Regions from separate parts of the Homo sapiens genome. Here region 1 is linked to region 2. Evidence: promoter capture Hi-C in 16 types of primary human blood cells and fetal thymus (Javierre and others, 2016). All regions are on one chromosome and are shown on one strand. The core of a region is centred on a gene start or on the middle of the fragment in contact, and the rest is flanking DNA. Distances in the headings are between cores, read along the strand shown.

Region 1 (5,332 bases), core at 2,086-4,585, 300 kb after region 2:
GGCAGATGCCTGTAATCCCAGCTACTCGGGAGGCTGAGGCAGGAGAATCGCTTGAACCTTGGAGCAAAGGTTGCAGTGAGCTGAGATCACACCGCTGCACTCCAACCTCGGTGACAGAGCGAGACTGTCTCAAAAAAAAAGAAAAAACATTAGCCAGGGGGTTGGTGCACACCTGTAGTCCCAGCTTCTCAGGAGACTGAGGCACGAGAATCACTTGAAGCTGGGAAACGGAGGTTGCAGTGTGCAAGATCATGCCACTGCACTCCAGCTTGGACAAAAGAGTGAGACTCTGTCTCAAAACAGACAAACCTTACTTGTCTATCAATAAGTGGCTAAGTAAGCTGCGGTACAGTTATAACATGACCTACAATATACTTGTTAAAAAGAATGAAGAGGCCAGGCACAGTGGCTCACGCCTGTAACCCCAGCACTTTGAGAGGCTGAGGTGGGCAGATCACGAGGTCAGGAGATTGAGACCATCCTGACCAACATGGTGAAACCCTGTCTCTACTAAAACACAAAAAATTAGCTGGCCGTGGTGGCTCGCGCCTGTAGTCCCAACTACTTGGAAGGCTGAGGCAGGGGAATAGCCTGAACCCAGGAGGCGGAGGATGCAATGAGCCAAAATCACGCCACTGCACTCCAGCCTGACGACAGAGCAAGACTCTATCTCAAAAAAAAAAAAAAAAGAAGAAAATCAGAAGGCTGATTGTGCATGGTACACTGCCAAGTGAGGGAAAAAGTGAAATTATTTCAGTTTTTTACTAGAAGTATATCATTTTATTTGTGCATATATTGTTTGAATTTGTTTACAATGAGTATGTAACACCTTGGTAACAAAACTATTTTCCAAAACCACCCCAGTTATTACCTTAAAACCAAACTTTAGAGAGTTAGTAGATTTTTTTTGTTTTTGAAAATCTTTATTGTTATTATTAGTGTGTTTATCCAACAAATTAAGAAGAAAAATAAAATTTAAAAAAGTTAGAATGTACTTTTTTGGGCAAAATCTAGGGAGTTACATTTAACTCAGAGAAATGTGAACTTAGGGAAGAAATATTTCACTTATACTTTGACATACACACACATACACGGGTATATTACCACAATTTTGTTGTTGTTTTTGAGACAAAGTCTTGCTGCGATGCCCAGGCTGGAGTGTAGTGGCACAATCTCGGCTCACTGCAACCTCCGATTCCCAGGTTCAAGCGATTCTCCTGCCTCAGCCTCCAGAGTAGCTGGGATTACAGGCATGCACCACCACACCTGGCTAATTGTGTGTGTGTGTGTGTGTGTGTGTGTGTGTGTGTGTGTGTGTGTGTGTGTAGTAGAGACGGAGTTTCACCATATTGGCCAGGCTGGTCTTGAACTCGCGACCTCAAGTAATCCACCTGCCTTGGCTTCCCAAAGTGCTGGGATTACAGGCGTGAGCCACCACACCCGGTGAATTCTTACCCCCACCTGGCTAGACGGAGTCTCACTTTATCACCCAGGCTGGAGTGCAGTGGCACGGTCTCAGCTCACTGCAACCTCTGCCTCCCAGGTTCAAGTGATTCTTGTGCCTCAGCTTCTCAAGTAGCTGGGATTACAGGCATGCACTACCACACCCAGCTTTTTATTTTATTTTATTTTAAGATGGAGTCTCGCTCTGTCACCCAGCCTGGAGTGCAGTGGCTTGATCTTGGCTCACTGCAACCTCCATCTCCCAGGTTCAAGCAATTCTTCTGCCTCAACCTCCCAAGTAGCTGGGACTACAGGAGCCCGCCACCACACCCAGCTAATTTTGTATTTTTAGTAGAGACAGGGTTTCACTATGTTGGCCAGTCTGGTCTTGAGCTTCTGACCTCAGATGATCCACCCGCCTTTGCCTCCCAAAGTGCTGGGATTACAGGGAGGAGCCACCGCGCCTGGCCATATTGCCACAATTCTCAGAGTATGCTCTATAGATTCCTGCAGCCCTCAAGACCTTTTCAGGGGAATCCATGAAGTCAAAACTATTTTCATTATAATTCTAATATATTATTTTTCACTATATTGACTTGCACTGATGGTACAAAAGCAATGGGGGGGGGGGCTAAAAATTTGCTGGTACTGCTGGGTGTGGTGGTGCACGCCTGTAGTCCCTGCTACTCAAGAGGCCAAGGCAGGAGGATTGCTTGAGCCCAGGAGTTTAAGGCTACAGTGAGCTATGATCTCACCACTGCAATCCAGCCTGGGCAACAGAGTGAGCTCCTGTTTCTAAAAAACAAACAAAGATAGCTGGTACCTCAGCACAGTATTAGGTAATGGTATCAAACTGTACTAGCAGTAAATGTATTCTTCCCCATTGGGCACTCAAAGCAGGAAAAGGCCGATTTTATTAAGAATCCTTGATGAAGCAGTAAAAATTAATTTTATTAAAACTTGACCCTTGAGTACAAGTGTTTTTAATATTCTATGTGAGGAAATGAGAAGGATACACAGAGCACTTCTGCTATATATCAAAGTACATTTGTTATCTCAAGGAGCATAGCTATTTTGGTTGCAAGCTGCATTGGCCTTTTTTGTTTTCATAGAACACCATTTTTACTTGAAAATAGCACTGACAGGCAAATGTTGGTAATTCAGATGTGGATATTTGGCAGACATTCTCTGGAGCCTGTCACTTGAAGGAAAACACCTGACAATATTTATTTCCAATGATAAAATTCAAAACCTTTGAGCAAAAATGAGAATTTTGGAAAATTGTATATATTCCTGGTTGACAGTTTTCTAAAAGCTTTAAAAACTTTTTTGATGAGATAAATCATGGTATTAATAAATGTGTTTTTTATATTATATAATAAAAATGTGTCAATATTTGAAAGATCTGCACAGTTCAGTGAACCAATGTTTTCCAAATGACCAATCATGATGTTACAAAATCATACATGTGTAAAAGATCCACTGAAAGTATATTAGGCCAGGCGCGGTGGCTCATGCCTGTAATCCCAACATTTTGGGAGGCCAAGGCAGGTGGATCACTTGAGGTCAGGAGTTCGAGACCAGACTGGCCAACATAGTGAAACCCCGTCTCTATTAACAATACAAAAATTAGCTGGGTATGGTGGTGAGCACCTGTAGTCCCAGCTACTCGGGAGGCTGAGGTATGAGAATCGCTTGAACCCAGGAGGCAGAGGTTACAGTGAGCTGAGATGGCACCACTGCACTCCAGCCTGGGCAACAGAGCGAGACTCCATCTAAAAAAAAAAAAAAGAAAGTACATAATAGGCCTGTAATCCCAGCACTTTGGGAGGCTGAGGCAGGAGGATCGCTTGAGCCCACGAGTTCCAGACCAGCCTGGGCAACATAGGGACACCCTGTCTCTACAAATAATTTTTTTTGATTAGGGCTGGGCACCGTGGCTCATGCCTATAATCCCAGCACTTTGGGAGGCCAAAGCTGGAGGATCACTTGAGCTCAGAAGTTCAAGATCAGCCTAGGCAACATGGCAAAACCCTGTCTCTACTAAAAATATAAAAAATTAGCTGGGTGTGGTGGCACATGCCTGTAGTCTGAGGTGGGAGGATCGCCTGAGCCCAGGAAGTCAAGGCTGAAATGAGCAGTGATTGCAGACACTGCACTCCACCCTGGGTAGCTGAGCAAGACCCTGTCTCAAAACAACAACACAGAATGAAAGTATGTGATAGACCAATGGATTTTAATATAACAGAGTATGGACATTTTATAGTTATGGTCTCAACCTTTAAGAAACTAACAGTTGTTGGATTTTGGTGTATTGAAGGGAATATCCAGTTTTCTGAAAAATCTGTTGAAGTATTTCTTCCTTTTCCAACTACATAGCTGTGTTGAGCCAGATTTTCTTCATATTCTTCAACCAAAACACTCATGGATTTGACTGAATACAGAAGCAGATATAAGAATCAAGCTTTTATAAAGCCAGACATTGAAGATGCCACTCTTCTCATTAAATTTTTTTGTTTTGAAAAAAATTTTTTTGGTCAGCTGTGGTGGCTCATGCTTGTAATCCCAGCACTTTGGGAAGCCGAGGCAGGCAGATTCACCTGAGGTCAGGAGTTCGAGACCAGCCTGGTCAACATGGTGAAACCCCGTCTCTACTAAAAATACAAAAATTAGCCAGGCATGGTGGCGTGCACCTGTAATCCCAACTACCTGGGAAGCTGAGGCAGGAGAATTGCTTGAACCCCAGCAGCTGAGGTTGCAGTGAGCCAAGATTGCATCATTGCCCTCCAGCCTGGGCAACAAGAGTGGAAACCCGTCTCAAAAAAAAAGAAAAAGAAAGAAAGAAAATGGCAGAGGAAGCCGGGCACAGTGGCTCACACCTGTAATCCCAGCACTTTGGGAGGCTGAGGTGGGCAGATTACTTGAGCTCAGGAGTTTGAGACCAGCCTGGCCAACATGGTGAAACTCCATCTCTACAAAAGATACAAAACTTAAATGAGCATGGTGGCAGGCGCCTATAGTCCCAGCTACTTGGGAGGTTAAGGTGGGAGGATCGCTTGAACCCAAGAAGCAGAGGTTGCAGTGAGCTGACATCCCACCAATGCACTCCAGCCTGGCTGACACAGCAAGACTGTCTCAAAAATAGATAGGGAAAATAGCAGAGGATCTAGTGAAGGAACATGGTCTAGTTTGCATCACTGCACATTATAATCCCCTTTGTAAGTGGATATATTAATGGAAGGTGAACAAACATGTCTCTGAAAACAACCTGGAGAAACCCCCCAAGGCCATGATTCTTCCCTTGGGTTCACTTAGCTAGTAGGTTCCTGGAATTGGTACTGAAAAATTCCCCAGTTCTTGTCCAGAAGTGGTAATTCCTTTGGTCTTGGAGGCCCTAGAGGTTTTCAACCTCCCCATTTTGACCTTGCTGTTAGGTTCTGGCCCTTACCATTCTTTTTATTTTTTAACAGCTTTATTTTTTTTATCTATTTTTTTTTAGAGACAGAGTCTTGCTCTGTTGCCCAGGATGGAGTGCAGTGGTGCAACCATAACTCACTGCAACCTGAAACTCCTGGACTCAAGCAATCCTCCTACCTTGGCCTCCCAAAGTGCTGGGATCACAGACATGAGCTACTGCACCCCACCTTAATAGCTTTCTTAAAATATAACTCACATATCACACAATTCACTCAAAGTGTTCAAGTCAATAACTTTTATTATATGCAGAGCTGTGCAATCATCACATCTTTTTTTTTTTTTTTTAACTTTTAGAGATGAGATCTTGCTATGTTGCTCAGGCTGGAGTGCAGTGGCTGTTCACATACAAGATCATAGCACACTGTGGCCTCTAACTCCTGGCCTCAGCCTCCTGAGTAGCAGGAACTACAGG
Region 2 (4,822 bases), core at 613-3,112:
TCTGTTGCCCAGGCTGGAGTACAGTGGCACAATCACGGCTCACTGCAATCTCTGCCTCCTGGTTCAAGCAATTCTCCTGCCTTAGCCTCCCGAGTAGCTGGGACTACAGGCGCGCCACCACCACGCCCAGCTAATTTTTGTATTTTTAGTAGAGATGGGGTTTCACCATGTTGGCCAGGCTGCTCTTGAACTCCTGACCTCGTGATCCAACCGCTTCAGCCTCCCAAAGTGCTGGGATTACAGACATGAGCCACCGAGCTCAGCCGCATTTTTAATATTCTCAAATACTTTAAGAATCTGAGAATAATGAAGGCACTGAACAACCCACCACTACCAACACCAACCATTCAGGGGTAGGGATTATGGTGATCTTCTCCAGGTCACCGTTCCTACTGAAAGAGCAAAAATAATTTTTTTTTTTTTTTCAGATAGAGTCTTACTCTGTCGCCCAGGCTGGAGTGCAGTGGCACGATCTCAGCTCCTGCAACCTCCGCCTCCCGGGTTCAAGCGATTCTCCTGTCTCTGCCTCCCGAGTAGCTGGGATTACAGGCACATGCCACCACGCCCGGCTAATTTTTGTATTTTTAGTAGATACGGGGTTTCGCCATACAGGTCAGGCTGGTCTCAAACTCCTGACCTCAGGTGATCCACCCCCCTTGGCCTCCCAAAGTGATGGGATTACAGGCATGAGCCACTGTGCCCGGACAAAAAAATAATAATTTTTAATAAGGTAGCACTGGTTATCAGGTTTAGAGAGAGGAAAACTGTAACTTGAAGACAAGGGAACCAGCTCAAGGACACAGAACAAGCCTGTGGAATGATAAGATATGGATTTCTTGAATGAGCTAAAAAACTCAGACTGATAAGATGCTGTGATTGAATATCAATAAAAGATCTGTGCCCTATTGTTCACGATAGCACAAAGCATCTGCTAAGAGAGCATTAGAATCTTTCCGAAGTAAGGCAAAACTTAATCAGTGACATTACCAGCACGCTGTATGCCCTTCCAAAAATAGAGGATGTGGTGGTTCCATACTATGGCGATTATCTGCCCTAAGAGAAGTCCAAGTTCAAGTACACAATCCCTTATCTGCAATTCCAAAATCCAAAACTCTCTGACATCTGAAAATGTTTTTCTGAGATTCATTTTGAGGTAAATTCTAAGATGAACTCAGTCTACTTCTGATCTTTAGTCATCTCATTTACTAGGAATATTCATATATTTCGCTTAAAAATGTTACTGTTTGAGTCCAAGAGTTTCAGGAAAAAGTGTGGATATGAATTAAAATACTCCCTTACTACATATCCGTGTATAAGTCATTCATTTAATCTTGCAGCCTCCGTTTCCTCAACTGCAGAATGGAAATCAAAACTCCAACCTCTCAAGATTGCTCCAAGGATTAAATGACCAGGCATCCAAATCGCTTAGTTCAGTGTCAGTACATAGTGGGCACTCGATAAAAACCGATTGTAACACTACTGGAATACAGGCCGCGAGGCTATGCGTTCAGATCTGGAGACCCTGCTGGGACAGACCAGAGATAATTCTGTCTCGCTCACCTGGCTTTGGCAACGGACCGCCCCGGTGCACGAAGCGCAGGGCGGTCGCAGGAGCTGGCTGAGCAGCGAAGCCCAGGCCCTCCTGGGAAGAAGTCCGAGCAGGGGCATCGCGCGGCAGGACGCCGGCTTTCCGGGACAGGAACAAAAGGCCTGGGAAGGAGGCGGGTCAGACACCAGGAAGGGTGGAGGGCACTGCAAAGGCGGAACCCGCGCACCAGGGAAAACTCGGGCGTTTGCGCACCTCACTAGTCACGAAGGCTGAGGTGGGATCCTCCCAAGTTCCCTTAGTAGCCAGCTTCGGCACTTCCGGGAGGAGCCGGAAATAATTTTTGTGCTCGGCGGAGGCTCTCTAGGCGTGCGACCCAGCGACTCGATAGCCGGAAGTCATCCTTGCTGAGGCTGGGGCAACCACCGCAGGTCGAGACAGCAGGCGGCTCAAGTGGACAGCCGGGATGGCAGAGCGTGCGGCGCTGGAGGAGCTGGTGAAACTTCAGGGAGAGCGCGTGCGAGGCCTCAAGCAGCAGAAGGCCAGCGCCGAGCTGGTGAGATTTAGGCAGCAGGGGAGAGGGCCAAGGCAAAGCCTGGGAGGACGTAAAGCCAGGGTGTTCGGGACATAGGGTAGAGATGTGAGGGAAGCGACCAGTCTTGTAGGGAGGAGAGTGGGCTGCGTGGGGAGACATCCGGGGTGGGTCCCGAGAGAAACAAAGCTAGGCCTGAGCAGAGAGATGTGATGAGGGAGGAATATTGAATGAATGGCGGGGGAGGGAGGAGAGTGACAGATGGATAGCTCAGCGCCTTCTTTCCCTCCACAGATCGAGGAGGAGGTGGCGAAACTCCTGAAACTGAAGGCACAGCTGGGTCCTGATGAAAGCAAACAGAAATTTGTGCTCAAAACCCCCAAGGTAATATCATTCCTGTAGGGAGCCACTGAGAAAGTCTCTAACTCTACTCACGGGGCGCTTATGTCTGCCTCCCTAAACCAGGTCATTGAGGAGGATCTGAAATGCTGCAGAGGAGAGGACAGTCGCTCTGGGCGCTGGGCTGGACTGGACTCTACCTGAGTCATTCTGGGATGGCAAAGTGATGGCAGAAACTAGGCCAGCTGGGTGATCAGGGGAGTCAGCCTGCTGCTGCTACTCCTTCGTTCATTCAATAAATGTGTATTTAGCGCTATGTCTCTAGCACTATACAAAGCACTGAATATATACCATGGTGGACAATATAGCCTACCCTCATGGAGCTTACATTCTACTGAAGGAGAGAGACTTAGAACAAATAATCCCACACAGATTTTTTTGTTTTTTTTTTAAACAGAGTATCCTCTGTTGCACAGGCTGGAGTGCAGTGGCACATCTTGGCTCACTGCAGCCGCTGCCTCCTGGGTTCAAGCGATTCTCCTGCTTCAGCCTCCTGAGTAGCTGGGACTACAGGTGCCCACCACCATGCCCAGCTAATTTTTGTATTTTTAGTAGAGACGGGGTTTCACCATATTGGCCAGGATGGTCTTGAACTTCTGACCTCAAGTGATCTGCCCGCCTCAGTCTCCCAAAGTGCTGGGATTACAGACGTGTGCCACCGCACCCGGCCACCACATGTGGTTATGTAATTACATATTGTGAAAAATGATATAAAGAAATTAAGGTTGCTCTGAGAAAAATAAGGGAGAACTGGGGAGTCTGAGAAAGGCTAACTGAGGAAGTGATATACTAACTGATCTAATGAATGAGTAGGAGATAGCCAGAGGACAAGTGTGACAAAGATAGGTCCAGGTAGAGTATGGAAACCCTAAAGTGGGAAAGAACTTTGGTAGTTTTGAGGAACTAGAGGATGATCTACATGGCTAGAACTAAGTTAAGGAGAGTAGAGTGGAATGAGGTTGGAGATTCTGAGCTCATCCTCCAGTTCAGTTCCACTTTCTGTAAGTTCTATAAACAGAACTGTTTACCCCTTCATCTAGGTGCTCTTGGCACTTCATACATATTTGTTATTACACCAACTTTAAGTAGTTATTTATGTCGTTTATTTACCCTGAGACTGAGACTAGATGCCTAAATAGGTATAGTCAGCCCTCCATATCCCAAGGTCCCACATTCACAGATTCAACCAACTGTGGATCAAAACCATTCAGGGGAAAAGAAACGATTAAGAAAAAAAATCTGGCTGAGTGTGGTGGCTTACACCTGTAATCCCAGCACTTTGGGAGGCCACAAGGGGAGGATCATTTGAGCCCAGGAGCTTGAGACCAGCCTGAGCAACATAGTGAGTCCCTATCTCTAAAAACAAACAAACAAATAAAAACCTTTTGAAATCTAACAATAAAAATTTCAAATAAAAAATATAGTATAGCAACTATTTACATAGCCTTTACATTGTCTAAGGCATTATAAACACTCTAGAGACTATTTAAAGTATATAGGAGGATGTGCATATAATTTTATGTCAAGGGCTTGAGCATCCATGGATTTTTGGTATTCACATGGGGCCCAGAACAAATCTCCTGTGGATACTGAGGGATGATTCTATTTAATACATGTATTTGAAATTGAATTCCAAAGGAGAGGGGAGATGGTCTGTTTTCCTTGTGTTAAGGTTAATTCTTTGGGATCCTAAATTCATTGAGCTGTTTCTTTCTACATATAACTAATTTTTGAAGGTTAAAGAGACAGTGTAAAATCCCAAAGTGGTGATCATCAATGATTTTTCAAACTATTAGATGAAAAGCTTACTGTGGAATTTATGATGGATCAGTCTGTCCTCACTAGTGATCAGTTTTAACATCACTAAAAGTAGGACAACTAGACATTATGTTCCTGCTGATGTGATGCAAGAAGAAGTACACAGCACCACCTGGGAAGTATTCTTGCCAAGTAAATTGAACTTGAATCTAATCAGATCTTTGGACTAACTATCAGTTTACAGGAAATACTAGAGATGGAGGAACATGTTAGATGGCACATCAAGCATATTGTTCACCAAATCTAGAATGTGAAAATTTTTTTTTAGGACAAATGGCCCAATTTCCTCAGTTAATAAATGACCTTTTTAAAATAAAAAAAAAAAGTTGGGGAGGGAAGGAAACTATTGTAGATTAAATAGACATATCAGCTGATTACAACGCATAGACTTCATTCTGAAGCTGATTCAAATAAATCAACCATAAAAAGATATTATTGAGGCAACTGGGGAAAACTGACCATGGCTTAGCATTAGATAATATTAAGGAGTTGCTGTTAGTTTTGTTAGTTATAATAAAGATAGAGTC

The links. The method cuts DNA at HindIII sites, captures the fragments that hold promoters and counts their contacts. A CHiCAGO score of 5 or more calls a contact.
Region 1: a fragment that was not itself captured here is called in contact with the fragment with the promoter of HARS2 in region 2 in 11 of 17 cell types (naive CD4 T cells, endothelial precursors, non-activated CD4 T cells and 8 more); the score reaches 8.7 in naive CD4 T cells.

What each region holds. Positions count from the first base shown.
Region 1 is chr5:140,385,118-140,390,449 of GRCh38, reverse strand. The region is part of intron 1 of ANKHD1-DT (ANKHD1 divergent transcript); the gene reads left to right. It overlaps LOC124901087 (a long non-coding RNA gene), which reads right to left. Exons shown (of 2, transcript XR_007058967.1): 2 at 3,661-3,877. Among named protein-coding and RNA genes, the nearest start is that of ANKHD1-DT, 14 kb to the left of the region's middle. The HindIII fragment of the contact is 1,149 bases long and covers 2,761-3,909 here.
Region 2 is chr5:140,688,495-140,693,316 of GRCh38, reverse strand. HARS2 (histidyl-tRNA synthetase 2, mitochondrial) reads right to left here and starts at 1,862. Exons shown (of 13, transcript NM_012208.4): 1 at 1,561-1,862. The coding sequence starts at 1,668. HARS1 (histidyl-tRNA synthetase 1) reads left to right here and starts at 1,947. Exons shown (of 13, transcript NM_002109.6): 1 at 1,947-2,102; 2 at 2,373-2,462. The coding sequence starts at 2,013. RefSeq lists enhancers at 1,611-1,680, 1,761-1,850, 2,011-2,240 and promoters at 1,512-1,828, 1,893-1,919, 1,891-2,012, 1,562-2,012. The HindIII fragment of the contact is 4,332 bases long and covers 1-4,283 here.